Linked DNA regions of Homo sapiens: region 2 is linked to region 1. The links are contacts of gene promoters, found by promoter capture Hi-C in blood cells and fetal thymus (Javierre and others, 2016). All regions are on one chromosome and are shown on one strand. Each heading gives the region's core, a stretch centred on a gene start or on the middle of the fragment in contact. The rest is flanking DNA. Distances are from core to core; before and after follow the strand shown. Region 1 holds the start of BORCS7-ASMT (BORCS7-ASMT readthrough (NMD candidate)). Region 2 has its middle 3.9 kb from the start of INA.

Evidence for each region. Contacts are between HindIII fragments. The CHiCAGO score rates a contact against its expected background, and 5 or more counts as called.
Region 2: a fragment that was not itself captured here is called in contact with the fragment with the promoter of BORCS7-ASMT in region 1 in 1 of 17 cell types (erythroblasts); the score reaches 6.4 in erythroblasts.

Annotation. Positions count from the first base shown.
Region 1 is chr10:102,849,727-102,856,707 of GRCh38, forward strand. BORCS7-ASMT (BORCS7-ASMT readthrough (NMD candidate)) reads left to right here and starts at 4,484. Exons shown (of 15, transcript NR_037644.1): 1 at 4,484-4,701. It overlaps BORCS7 (BLOC-1 related complex subunit 7), which reads left to right and starts at 4,533. Exons shown (of 5, transcript NM_001136200.2): 1 at 4,533-4,701. The coding sequence starts at 4,561. RefSeq lists enhancers at 4,053-4,566, 4,549-4,608, 4,567-5,079, 4,679-4,868, 5,876-6,848. The HindIII fragment of the contact is 18,616 bases long and covers 1-6,981 here.
Region 2 is chr10:103,269,748-103,276,728 of GRCh38, forward strand. No RefSeq gene overlaps it. Among named protein-coding and RNA genes, the nearest start is that of INA, 3.9 kb to the right of the region's middle. The HindIII fragment of the contact is 1,974 bases long and covers 4,099-6,072 here.

The DNA.
Region 1 (6,981 bases), core at 3,234-5,733:
GGATTACCAGTGTGAGCCACTGCGCCCAGCTGAACAGATTTCAAATGAGTTCTGGTAATATATTAGTTTTCTACTACCACATTACCATGAATATTACCAGAAACTTTGTGGCTTAAAACAACACACATGTATTATCTTACAGTCTTGGTGGGTTAGGAACCTAAGTATAGCTTCTCTGGGCCATCTACTTAGTGTCTCACAGGCTGCAGTAAAGGTGTGGGCCAGGGTTGGGTTCCATCTGGAGGCTCTACTGGGGAAGAATCTGCTTCCTATGTGCCTGGTTGTTAGCAGGATTGAGTTCCTTTTGATTGTTGGACTGAGAGCTTTTTTTTTTTTTTTCCGCTGGCTGTCAGCTGGAGGCCCAGAGGTAGGTGACTAGATGGTACTTGCAGTTCCTTGTCACGTGGAGTTCTCCAACGTGGCCACTCGCTTACTCACAGCCGGCAAGAGAGAGAGGCTCTGGCAAGAGAGAGGCTCCAGCAAGATGAGGGGAATGGTGATGTAACATGTAATCTTATGTAACATCATCATGTGTTTCCTATCACCTGTGCATACACTATCGATTAGAAGCAAATCAAAGATCATGTCCACAAGGAAGAGAAGAGGATCACACAAGAGCAAGAACACCAGGAGGTGGGGTCAAAGGCTACCCTGAGCGGCCAGTCTGTCCACCACAGGTAGCTACGTGTTACCATGGCTATAGAACATTCCATCTTTTCCTAAGTTTGTGGATGTGGAGCAACTGGAGTGGCATACACTGCTATCGGAAATGTAAAGTGTTAAACCACTTTGGAAAATGGTTTGGCAGTTTCTTGAAAACTGAAACACTTACCATATGATCCAGCCATTCCACTACTAGATAGTTACCCAAGAGAAATGAAAACAACCCACATAAAGACTTGTGTACAAATGTTCATAGCAGAATATTCATAATATTCCAAAAGTGGAGGCCAGGTGTGATGGGCTTATGCCTGTAATCCCAGAACTTTGGGAGGGCAAGGCAGGAAAATCACTTGAGCCCAGGCAACATAGGGAGACCCTGTCTTTACAGAAAAAATTGTAAAAATTAGCCAGGCATGGTGGCATGAACCTGTAGTTCCAGCTATTCCGGAGGTTGAGGTGGGAGGATTGCTTGAGCCTGGGAGCTTGAGCTGTGGTTATGCCATACACTCCAGCCTGGATGACAGAGGAGTGACTCTGTCTCAAAAACAACGACAAAAACCAAAACCAAAAAACAACAAAACAAAACAAAAACCCAAAAGTGGAAACAACCCAAGTGTCCATCAACAAGAGAGTGAATAAACACAGTGAGAACTATCCATGCAGTGGAATATTTCTCAGCAATAAAAATGAACAGGCTAGTTATATGCACAACAACATGTCAAATCATCATGCTGCAAGAATGAAGCCAGACAAAAAAAGACCCCCCTCCCCTCAAAAAAGCCTGTATGATGCTATTTATTTGCCATTCTAGAAATGCAAATTAATCTATAGTTCCCAAAAGCAGGGCAGTGGTTGCCCGGGTGAGACAGAGAAGGAGAGATGGACTTTAAAGGGCACTTGGAAACTTCTGAGGGTGATGAAATGTTTTGCATCTTTTTTTTTTTTTTTTTAATTGAGACAAGGGGCCGGGCGTGGTGGCTCATGTCTGTAATCCCAGCACTTTGGGAGGCCAAGGTGGGCCGATCATGAGGTCAGGAGTTCAAGACCAGCCTGGCCAACATGGTGAAACCCCACCTCTACTAAAAATACAAAAATTAGCCGGGCGCGATGGTGCGTACCTGTAGTCCCAGCTACTTGGGAGGCTGAGGCAGGAGAATCGCTTGAACCCGGGAGGCGGAGGTTGCAGTGAGCCAAGATCACACCCGTGTACTCCAGCCTGGGTGACAGGGCAAGACTCCGTCTCAAAATAAAGTAAATAAATAATAAAAATAAATAAATAAAATGAGACAAGTTATCGCTATGTTGCCCAGGCTGCTGATATTGAACTCCTGGCCTCAAGCAATCTTTCTGCCTCGGCCTCCCAAAGTGCTGGGAATACAGGCATGAGCTACTGCTCCCACCCTGTTCTGTATCTTAATAGTGGTGGTGGTTCACAGATGTATACGTCTGTCACACTCATCAAATCGTACACTTTAAAGAATGTGGTTATTGTGCAGGCCGGGCGTGGTGGCTCAACGCCTGTAATCCCAGCACTTTGGGAGGCCAAGGCAGGTGGATCACCTGAGGTCAGGAGTTCAAGACCAGCCTAGCCAACATGGTGAAACCCATCTCTACTAAAAATACAAAAATTAGCCAGGCGTGATAGTGGGCACCTGTAATCCCAGCTACTCGGGAGGCTGAGGCAGGAGAATCGCTTGAACCAGGGAGGCAAAGGTTGCAGTGAGCCAAGATCGTGCCACTGCACTCCAGCCTGGGTGACAAAGCAAGACTCCATCTCAAAAAATAATGTTGTTATTGTACATAAATTATAACATAAATTCATGCACATAAACTCAATAAAGTTTATTAAGGACAAAAAGTAAACAGTAAATGAGATTCAACGGAGACATATGAATCTAGACACTTGGAAGAGGAAGTAATGTTGATATTGAATACAGGTAATTTTGAACAAAATTTTCAATACAATAACATTCTCACATCTTTTATTAACTAAAAAAGAAATGGAGCTACTTGAAATATTTTATTTTTTTTTTGAGACAGAGTCTCACTCTGTCGCCTAGGCTGGAATACAGTGGCATGATCTCGGCTCACTGCAACCTCTGCCTCCCGGGTTCAAGAAATTCTCCTGCCTCAGCCTCCAGAGTAGCTGGGACTACAGGTGCCCACCACCACGCCCGGCTAATTTTTGTATTTTTAGTAGAGACGGGGTTCCACCATGTTGGGCAGGCTGGTCTCGAACTCCTGACCTCAGGTGATCCTCCCGCCTCAACTTCCCAAAGTGCTGGGATTACAGGCGTGAGCCACGGCACCTGGCCTACTTGAAATATTTTACATATTAATTCACTTACAAGGTGGTTACCATCAGTTTGGTATTAATACAATAAAGAGGTTATCAATAAAAATTACTAGTGATGTTGAGCATTTTTCACATTTATCAGCCAGTTGATTTTTTTTTTTGAATTGCCTACTTGTGCCTTTTGCCAATTTTTCTATTAGATTGTTTTTCCTTCTTCATTTGTTTACAGGCCTATCTGCCTCATCAGCCTGGGAGTTCCACAGAGACAAGAACTGTATTTCATTTCTTTCTCTATCCCCAGCCTAGTACAGTGTCTGGTATTTAGTTCATGAAATGTTTGTTAAAATTGAATGGAATGAGGCCAGGTGCAGTGGCTCACGCCTGTAATCCCACCATTTTGGAAGGCCAAGGCTGGTGGATCATTAGATGTCAGGAATTTGAGACCAGCCTGGCCAACATGGTGAAACCCTATCTCTACTAAAAATACAAAAATTAGCCGGGCCTGGTGGCAAGCACCTGTAATCCCAGCTACTTGGGAGGCTGAGGCAGGAGAATCACTTGAACTCAGGAGGCGGATGTTGCAGTGAGCTGAGATCGAGCCACTGCACTCCAGCCTGGGCAACAAAGCGAGACTCCATCTCAAAAAAAAAATAAAATAAAATAAAATTAAATAAAATGAGACAAGTTATCGCTATGTTGCCCAGGCTGCTGATACTGAACTCCTGGCCTTGAGTGACCCTTCTGCCTCGGCCTCCCAAAGTGCTGGGACTACAGGTGTGTCACCATATGGATAGGTTGGCCTTGAACTCCTGACCTCAAGTGATCCACCTTGGCCTTTCAAAGTGTTGGGATTACAGGCGTGAGCCACCACGCCTGGCCCCTTGTCTCAATTAATCAAAAAAAGGCCTAGGCAACAGAACAAGACTCTGGGGAAAAAAAAATATATATGTATATATATATGTGTATATATATGTATATATATGTATATATGTGTATATATGTGTATATATATGTGTATATATATATATGTGTATATATATATGAATGGAATGATATTCTCATAACCCCTTGGAAACATTATTACTTCTGTTTAACAGATGAGGAATATAAGACAGAAGCTGAGTAATTTGCAGCCACACACTGCTAAATGGTAGCATTGGGACTGTAATCCGGGCCTTCTGATTCTTTTTAATTATTTGTATTAATTTTAATTTTATTTTATTTTTAAAGAGATGGAGTTTCGCTATGTTGCCCAGGGTGGTCTGGAACTCTCAGGCTCAGGTGATCCTCCTGCCTGGGTCTCCCAAAGGGCTGGGATTTCAGGCGTGCGCCGCCATGCCCTGCCGCAGGCTTTCCGATTCTGAACCATAGAGTCAATGAAACTGTCCTCCATCCCCTCCAGAGATGTTTGCCTGGACCCTGTTTTCCTCAGGATATCAATGAATAGTTCATGAGTTTAGTGAGCAAAGGTCAACCTCCATCAGGCGCATGCGTCCCTTCCTTTTCCCATGGAGGAAGAGACGCCTCTTTTCCTTCCGCTTTGCTTGTCTTTTGGCCCCGGCGACTCACCATCGTCAGTGCGCAACCGTTCGCTAACTGAAATGATGGCGACTGGAACGCCAGAGTCTCAAGCGCGGTTCGGTCAGTCCGTGAAGGGGCTTCTCACGGAGAAGGTGACCACCTGTGGTACTGACGTAATCGCGCTCACCAAGCAGGTGCTGAAAGGCTCCCGGAGCTCCGAGGTGAGCTGGAAGTGGACTCTCCCGGCCTGATAGTCCGGGGAGTCGCAGTCTTTCGTTGCTGTGGGAAGGAGGTCGCGTTGCATCTTGGGAATTGTAGGCTGTGAAGTACTTGCTATGAGTAGGTCTTCTTCGCGGAGGCGCGTGTTGCATTCTGGGGTGTGCAGTCTCTTTGGTTAGGGACAGTGTGTGAGGGTTGGGGGAAGAAGCGATGCCATGGGAACCTGTGCTTTAAAACAGCTCTTTGGGAGGCCGAGGCGGGCGGATCACCTGAGGTCGGGAGTTCGAAACTAGCCTGACAATCATGGAGAAACCCCCGTCTCTACTAAAAAATAATAATTAAAAAAATATATAGCCGAGCGTGGTGGCACATGCCTGTAATCCCAGTTACTTGGGAGGCTGAGGCAGGAGAATTGCTTGAACCTGGGAGGCGAATTATATATATAAGTATTATATATTACGTATTATATAATATATATACGTATATATTATATATAATGTGTATGTATATATTACATATATAATATACATATATATTATATATAATATATGTAATATATATTATATATATTTTCAACTAGAGGTGTTTATAGTTAACCACCTGTAAATATTCAACATATTCATCATAATAAACGTACATTTATTTAGCATTTTATATATGCTAGACACTGTTGTCTTTTATGGAGTTTAATTCATGAAGTCTTTAGAATGACTAATTGAAGGAAGTACTTTTCCTTTTTTTTTTTTTTTTTTGAGACGGAGTCTAGCTCTGTCGCCAGGCTGGAGTGTAGTGGTGTGATCTTGGCTCACTGCAACTTCCGCCTCCTGGGTTCAAGTGATTCTCCCGCCTCAGCCTCCTGAGTAGCTGGGATTACAGGCACGCACCACCACACCTGGCTATTTTTGTATTCTTAGTAGAGATGAGGTTTCACCATGTTGGCCAGGCTGGTCTCGAACTCTTGACCTCATGATCTGCCTGCATCAGCCTTCCAAAGTGCTGGGATTACAGGCGTGAGCCACCGCTCCTGGCAGCATTGCTTCTTGAGCAGTCTCCACATAGCTATTTTGTTTGATTAGCTGAGAATTTCATGTGTAAAAAACTCATTCCACAGTATTCATTTAACAAATACTTATTGGGTGTCTGCTATGTGCCAGGAACTGCTCTAGGTACACGGAATAAACAAAACTAAATCCCTCTACTTGGGAAGTTTACATTTTAGTGAAGAGACAGACGATAAACAAGTGAAACAGAAAAAAATCAGGTGGTGGTAAATCCTGTGAAGCAAAATTAATCTGGGAATAGAGAGTGATGAAAGGGTTAATCTTTGTTTGTTTGTTTGTTTTGAGACAGAGGAGGAGTCCCACTAGCTCTGTCACCCAGGCTAAAGTGCAGTGGCCCGATCTCGGGCTCACTGCAACCTCTGCCTCCTGGGTTCAAGCGATTCTCCTGCCTCAGCCTCCTGAGTAGCTGGGATTATAGGCGCCTGCCACCACACCCAGCTAATTTTTGTGTTTTTAGTAGAGATGGGGTTTCACCATGTTGGCCAGGCTGGTCTCAAACTCCTGACCTCAAGTGATCCTTCCCGCTTTGGCCCCCTAAAGTGCTGGGATTACAGGCATGAGCCACCACACCCGGTCGAAAGGGTTAATCTTAAACAGATGATCAGGGAAGGGGTCTCTGGGGAGAGAGCCTGTGAGGAGAAACACACTGACATTTGCCCACAGCATAATGAGTGGTTATGACTCATAGGCTTGTCTCTTGCATGCCTGCGCTTCTCCTCCTCCATTTGAGTTGTGTGCTTAGTGAGGGTCCATTGTGTTTTTTTCTAAACATCATGTGTCTGTGGGCTGGGCGCAGTGGCTCATGCCTGTAATCCTAACACTTTGGGAGGCCGAGGCAGGATTGCTTAAGCCCAGGGGTTCGAGACCAGCCTGGGCCACATAGTGATATCTTGTCTCTGTAAAAAAAGGAAAAAAAAAAAGAATGAAAACAATTTTTTAAATGTGTGTATGGCACTTATGCTTACAGTTGCAACTACGTAATTTAATGAAATAATACGAAAAATGAAATATGAGTACCAAAAAAGAGGGTTGCTATTGCTATGAAAACTAAGTTGAAAATCAGAAACACTTGTTGAAGATGAGTAGCTAAGACAAATTGTTATTGAGTTAATTATGAACAAGTTAATGGTAAAAGCCTAGGAGAAAAATTTATAGAAATCTAAAAAGATTCTGTAGTGAAGATTGTTTTACAGGTGTATTCAAGATGTTCTTCCATTTTAA
Region 2 (6,981 bases), core at 3,836-6,335, 420 kb after region 1:
GATTCTCCCACCTCAGCCTCCCGAGTAGCTGAGATTACAGGCGCACACCACCATGATTGGCTAAATTTTTGTATTTTTAAGAGAGATGGAGTCTCACCATGTTGACCAGGCTGGACTTGAACTCCTGAGCTCAGGTCATCTGCCCACCTTGGCCTCCCAAAGTGCTAAGATTACAGTAATGGCTTGAGCCACTGTGCCTGGCCAAATGTATATTAACTTTATAAGAAACTACTAAAGTGTTTTTCCAGAGTATGTGTACCATTTTACATCCCCACCAGCTTTTCTGGCGGGAATAAATTAGAGATCCAGCTGTTCTCCATCCTTGTAAGCACTTAGTATTGTCAGTATTTTGTGTTTAAGCCACTCTAGTAGGTATGTAGTGTCACATAATTGTGCTTTGAATTTGATTTCCTGATGGCTAGTTATGTTGAACATATTTTCATCTACTTATTTGCCATTTGTATATTCCCTCTGGTAAAATGCCTATTCAAGTCATTTGCCCATTTTCTAATTGGAATGTTCATTTCCTTTCTGTTATGTTTAGACAGTTCTTTTTTTTTTTTTTTTTTTTTGAGATGGAATCTCGCTCTGTCACTCAGGCTGAAGTGCAGTGGCGTGATCTCGGCTCACTGCAACCTCCGCCTCCTGGGTTCAAGCGATTCTCATGCCTCAGCCTCCCTAGTAGCTGGGATTACAGGAGCATGCCACCAGGCCCTGCTAATTTTTTTGTATTTTTAGTAGAGACGGGGTTTCACCATGCTGGCCAGGCTGGTCTTGAACTCCTGACCTCAAGTGATCCACCCACCTTGGCCTCCCAAGGTGCTGGGATTACAGGCGTGAGCCACCACGCCTGGCTAGAAAGTTCTTTACAAATTCTGGATACACATTCTGGATACATTTGTTGTCATTTGTAAATATTTTTGGCTTGTCTTTTCATCTTCTTCTTTTTTTTTTTTGAGATGGAGTCTCACTCTGTCGCCTGTTGCCCAGGCTGGAGTGCAATGGCACAGTCTCGGCTCACTGCAACCTCTGCCTGCCGGGTTCAAGCAATTCTCCTGCCTCAGCCTCCCGAATAGCTGGGACTACAGGCACGTGCCACCATGCTCAGCTAATTTTTTAGTAGAGATGGCTAGGCTTGTCTCGAACTTCTGACCTCGTGATCTGCCTGCCTTGGCCTCCCAAAGTGCTGAGCCACCATGCCCAGCCTTCATCTTCCTTTTTTTTTTTTTTTTTTTGAGACACAGTCTCGCTCTGTTGCCCAGGCTGGAGTGCAGTGGCGCGATCTTGGCTCACTGCAAGCTCTGCCTCCTGGGTTCATGCCATTCTCCTGCCTCAGCCTCCCGAGTGGCTGGGATTACAGGCGCCCGCCACCACGTCTGGCTAATTTTTGTATTTTTAGTACAGACGGAGTTTCACCGTGTTAGCCAGGATGGTCTCGATCTCCTGACCTCGTGATCTGCCTGCCTCAGCCTCCCAAAGTGCTGGGATTACAGGCGTGAGCCATGGTGCCTGACTGCCTTCATCTTCTTAACAGGATCTTTTGCAGAGCAAAAGATTTTAATTTTGATGAAGTTAAAAGCATTTTTTTTTTTATGAATCTCACTCTTGGTGTCATGCCAAAGACTTTTCCCAAGTGGTTATATGAGAAAGCATTTTCAACCCCTTTTTTCACCTCACATGTGTTTAATACTGTGATAGGTGCTGAGAGATATATATAGATGTAGAAGATGAGTTGTGCTCAAGGAGCTTCCAGTTCTATTCATCTATTTATTTATTTATTTTAATATTTAGAAATGGAGTCTCACTATGTTGCCCAGGCTGGAGTGCAGCGGTTATTCACAGGTGCAATCATAGTACACTACAGCCTCGAACTCCTGGGCTCAAGAGATCTTCCTGCCTCAGCCCAAGTAGCTGGGCCTATAGGTGTGCACTACTGCACACAGCTCCCATTTCAACTCAGACAAGCATACAAATAATTACAGTAGAAGACTATGTTCATTATGAGCCATGTGAGTGCTGCAAAGGCTATGGGTTTGAGGAGGAGAGTTCAAGGGAAGGATGGATCACCTTCCACTGGAGATACCAAGGAAGGCTTCAAGGAGGGGCGGCATTTGAGCCTTAAGGATCTCAACAGTTGAAGTAGGGCTGGGGGTGAAATTCCAGGAAGAAGGAACTGTGTAAGCAGAGGAACGAGTGGGACAAAGTGAAGATCAAGAAGCAAGGGGAGGGGGGAGGAGAAGAGGGAGATAATAAGTTCACTTTCAGATCTATGGTATTTGAAGACCAGCAAGCATTCACGAGGAGATATCCAACAGGCAGTTAGATATGTGTTTGGAGGTGGAAATTGGAAATAGGGGTTTGGGACTCATTGGCATAGGTCAGGGCCTTAGTTGTATGCCCCACAGCAACTTGTACTTGCCTTCAGAGCACTTGTCATAAGTGTAATTAACAATTAATGGTGTAATTAGCTGCTTAATCTCTGTCTCTCCTACTAGAATGCCACTCCCATGGAGGCAGAGCCCACATCTGCCTTATTCCTATGGAGAAGGCACCTACTCCAGGGGCCTTGGACATAAACATTCAGTAACTATTTGGTGAATGAATTAATTAAAGAAGTTGATACTTCTAACAGCTACCATTTACTGAACATGCACACAGCAGGCACTGTGATGTCTGCTTTGTATACATAATCTCATTTAAACTGCACAGTCATTTCACGAGAGGTAGGTCTAGGGATCTCAATCCCTTAGATTAAGTGGGTTATGGGTAAAGCCCAGGAATCTAAATTTAAGTTCTCAGGTAATTCTAATGATCAGCCAGGTTTGCAGAGCACTCTGGTGGATTGTTTTATTGAAATTTCACAGACAATTTCAAGAAATTACGGCTCAGCAAATAATAGTAATGTGTTTGAGGTCACCTGGCTAGATGCAAAACTAGATTTCTCAGGGAGAAAACTTTATAAGCCTCCCTGCTTCTGGGAGATCTAATATCGTAAAAAGAGAGTTGTTTATTATTATTATATTATTATTATTATTATTATTATTATTATTATTATTATTATTTTGAGACAGAGTTTCGCTCTTATTGCCCAGGCTGGAGTGCAATGGCGCGATCTCTGCTCACTGCAACCTCTGCCTCCCGGGTTCAAGCAATTCTCCTGCCTCAGCCTCCTGAGAAGCTGGGACCACAGGCATGTACCACCACACTCAGCTAATTTTTGTATTTTTGGTAGAGATGGGGTTTTGCCATGTTGCCCAGGCTAGTCTCAAACTCCTGGGCTCAAGTGCTCCTCCCACCTCAGCCTCCCAAAGTGCTGGGATTACAGGCATGAGTCACGGTGCCTGGCCTAAAAAAAGAGTTTACAAAGGAAGAGCGGAAGGCTAAGAACTGAGTCATTAAAACCAAGGAGAGTGGTCAGCACTGCCAAATGCCACAGAGAGACTGGAGAATGTGGCCTTAGGGAGAACTGGGGATGACTGACAACGTGTCTGTGGTGTCTGAGTGTGCCATCAGAGGAAGATGAAGACACAGCCCTGGCACACACAGGGAACTCCCTCAGGAGGCCTGGCCAGCTGGAAGGAGTTATGGATTGAGGCTCAGCCAAGATCACTCCTTCGCAGGATAGCTTTGTGCTAAAATTATTAAAGCCAAACATCTGGGCCTGTGGGGTGGGATGCCAAGAAAGAGGAGGCATAAGTCCCACAGGGGAATACCAGTTTGGAATCTCAGATAAGCTGTTGAGAAAATGCAAAATGCATCTTTGCCAGGGCAACTGTCACTCTGCTGAAATATTTAGGCCTTTTGCCTCACTTTCTTCTGTTCTATGTGTGTTTTGCCTTTGGGGTACTGATTCCACTGGAGGATGGGAAGGGAAAGAAAGCGGAACTCCAACCAGGACATTTTGCTGACTTTCAGTAGTAGTAGCCTGGAGACCTGTGCAAGGGTGTGATGGACTATTTCCTGCAATCCCCTCCCTAAACCCAATTCATATCCTGTTGCTGATGGATGTGAAACCGTTCCTTTCATTTGAAAGAGGATGATGATGACCATAACTCTTTATACCTACAGCTTAAAAGCACCTTCACATGCATCAGCTCAAGCTTTCATGACTCTTGGGAGGTAGGTGTTGTTATCCCTACATGCTTAGTAAGTGGCAGAAGCCACAATTCAAACCCATTGCCTCTGACTCTGAGTCCAATGTTCTTTCAATTACAAACCAGCATGCTGATTTGTTATCAGCCAAAACTCTTCCAAAGCCCACTTAGTCCTATTCTGGCTGCACAGAAATATTTTGTTTTTTTGAGACAGTTTCACCCTTGTTGCCCAGGCTGGAGTGCAATGGTGCGATCTTGGCTCACCACAACCTCCGCCTCCCGGGTTCAAGTGATTCTTCTGCCTTGGCCTCCAGAGTAGCTGGGATTACAGGCATGTGCCACCACCCTCAGCTAATTTTGTATTTTTAGTAGAGACAGGTTTCTCCATGTTGGTCAGGCTGGTCTCGAACTCCTGACCTCAGGTGATCCACTCGCCTCGGCCTCCCAAAGTGCTGAGATTACAGGCAGGAGCCACGGCAGCCGGCCGTGCTGCATGGAAATTAACAAGACTTCAAGAGTCTCACTGCAGGCTGGGCGCAGTGGCTGACGTCTGTAATCCCTGCACTTTGGGAGGCCAAGGCAGGTGGATCACCTGAGGTCAAGTTCAAGACGAGCCTGGAAAACATGATGAAACCCCGTCTCTAGTAAAAATACAAAAAATTGGCCAGGCGTGGTGGCTCATGCCTGTAATCCCAGCACTTCGGGAGGCCAAAGCAGGTGGATCACGAGGTCAGGAGTTCAAGACCAGCCTGGCCAACATGGTGAAACCCCATCTCTACTAAAAATACAAAAATTAGCCAGGTGTGGTGGTGGGCACCTGTAATCCCAGCTACTCGGGAGCCTGAGGCAGAGAACTGCTTGAACCCAGGAGGCAAAGGTTGCAGTGAGCCGAGATTGTGCCACTGCATTCCGGCTTGGGCGACAGAGCGAGACTCCATCTCAAAAAAAAAAAAAAATACAAAAAATAGCCAGATGTTGTGGCAGACACCTACCCGCTGACCTGTGGTGAGCCAAGATCACGCTACTGCCCTCCAGCCTGGGCAAGAAGAGCGCAACTCCGTCTCTCTTTTTTTTTTTTTTTTTGATGGAGTCTCGCTCTGTCACCCAGGCTGGAGTGCAGTCGCATGATTTCGGCTCACTAAAACCTCCACCTCCCGAGTTCAAGCAATTCTCCTGCCTCAGCCTCCTGAGGAGCTGGGATTACAGGCCCGTGCCACCACACCCGGCTCATTTTTATATTTTTAATAGAGACAGGGTTTCACCATGTTGGTCAGGCTGGTCTCAAACTCCTCACCTCAAGTGATCCGCCCATCTCGGCCTCCCAAAGTGCTGGGATTACAGGTGTGAGCCACTGCACCCGGCCAACTCCGTCTCAGAAAAAAAAAAAAAAAAAAAAGAGTCTCACTGCACTAAGCAGAATTATGTAGTGAAGAGAGAATGTATGCTTGTCTTTGCTTGCTGGTGACCTTGTGCTGCACCCGCACCTCGGTGCCTTATCTATAAGATGGAGGTGAGGGCCACCTTGAAGCATGGTTCAGAGGTAAACCTATGCAAAAGTGCCAGCACAAGTACTGGCAGACAATCATTACTCAGCAGTGTTAGCAATCTTTTATTGTTCACCTTACCAGGTCTTTCTAAGCCCAAAGACCTCAGAATTGAGTCCCTCCAACTCAAGGCTTTGGTCTGTGATGAGGAACCAGAGGGGCAGGCTGTGGCAGGGCCTGACCATCTTCCATGACATCAAGCACAAAGCCAAGAGATATGCTCCAAAGTCCCATAAGATCCCTTTTCACCCTTCCTTTAGTGGCCTGTCCCAAGCATATTCCCCTTTCCCCATGAAGTAAAACTTATCCTAGAACTACGTCCTTGAAGATTCCAATATCAATAAAAGGCCCTCAGTCTGGAATTCTGGGATATAACTAAAAAGGTCTTCCTACTCCCTCTCCAAAGCCATATCCACATCCTGAATGATATTAGAAGCTTGCAAGTGGGTACATATTACAGACGCCACACTGACCCCTCCCAGCCTTCATCTTTTCAGATTCCATTCTTTGATTCTCACCCCCTGCCCCACCAACCCTACCATGTGGCAGAAGAGGCCGGCTCAGTCACCAGCACTCTCCCCCACTCCTGGAGTTTAATCTTTTTGCAGGGATCTCTTTTCTCCAAAAAGAGATCTGCACAGGGAGTGGCTCTCTGAAGCCAGTTGAGAACCTGCCCTGCTGGATTTACACAAACTGAAATCTCAAATGCCCACAGGGTCAGAGAGGTAAAGTAAATGAATTAAGAAGGGGGGCGTAATTCAGTGGAGAATGGCAGGGACTGTAGTGAACAGGAGAGCACACTTCTTATACAAATGGCAAGGGCAACTCACCTCTGCCACTGTGGGCATCCCAGCTCTTCCCATTTTCAGAAGAAGCCAGAAATCCAATTTCTTTACAGGTGAAATCTCCTGGTTTAAAAATGCTCCTTTCGAAATATTTTAAAATATAATGCTCTAAACACAAAAGTCTGCAGCCCCCTTTCCAGCAGCTTGTGGTCCTGGCCTGTGCCATGCTTTAGTGCCCTAACGATGAGCCCCAGCAATTCCCAGCGCCTCCTGCTTCTCCAAGTCTGGCCTCTTTTCCCCTCTGTACCGCCGCTTCTCCCCACTCTCCGCAGCTCGGGGTCACTTTCTTTACTGATCTCCCCTCTCTTCTGGGAGAGGCACTTGCTGAACATCTTTCCGCCCGGAGCCTCCCCAGGAGCTGCAGAGGGGCAGCTGGAGAGATGCTTTCTGACGTAGCATCTCCCACCTTTCTCCTTGGGGACCCTGAGGAAGGGGACAAGGGCTCGCTCTGCAGGTCCTCACTGTAACTGGAAAAACACGACCTCGCCCTCGGGAAGG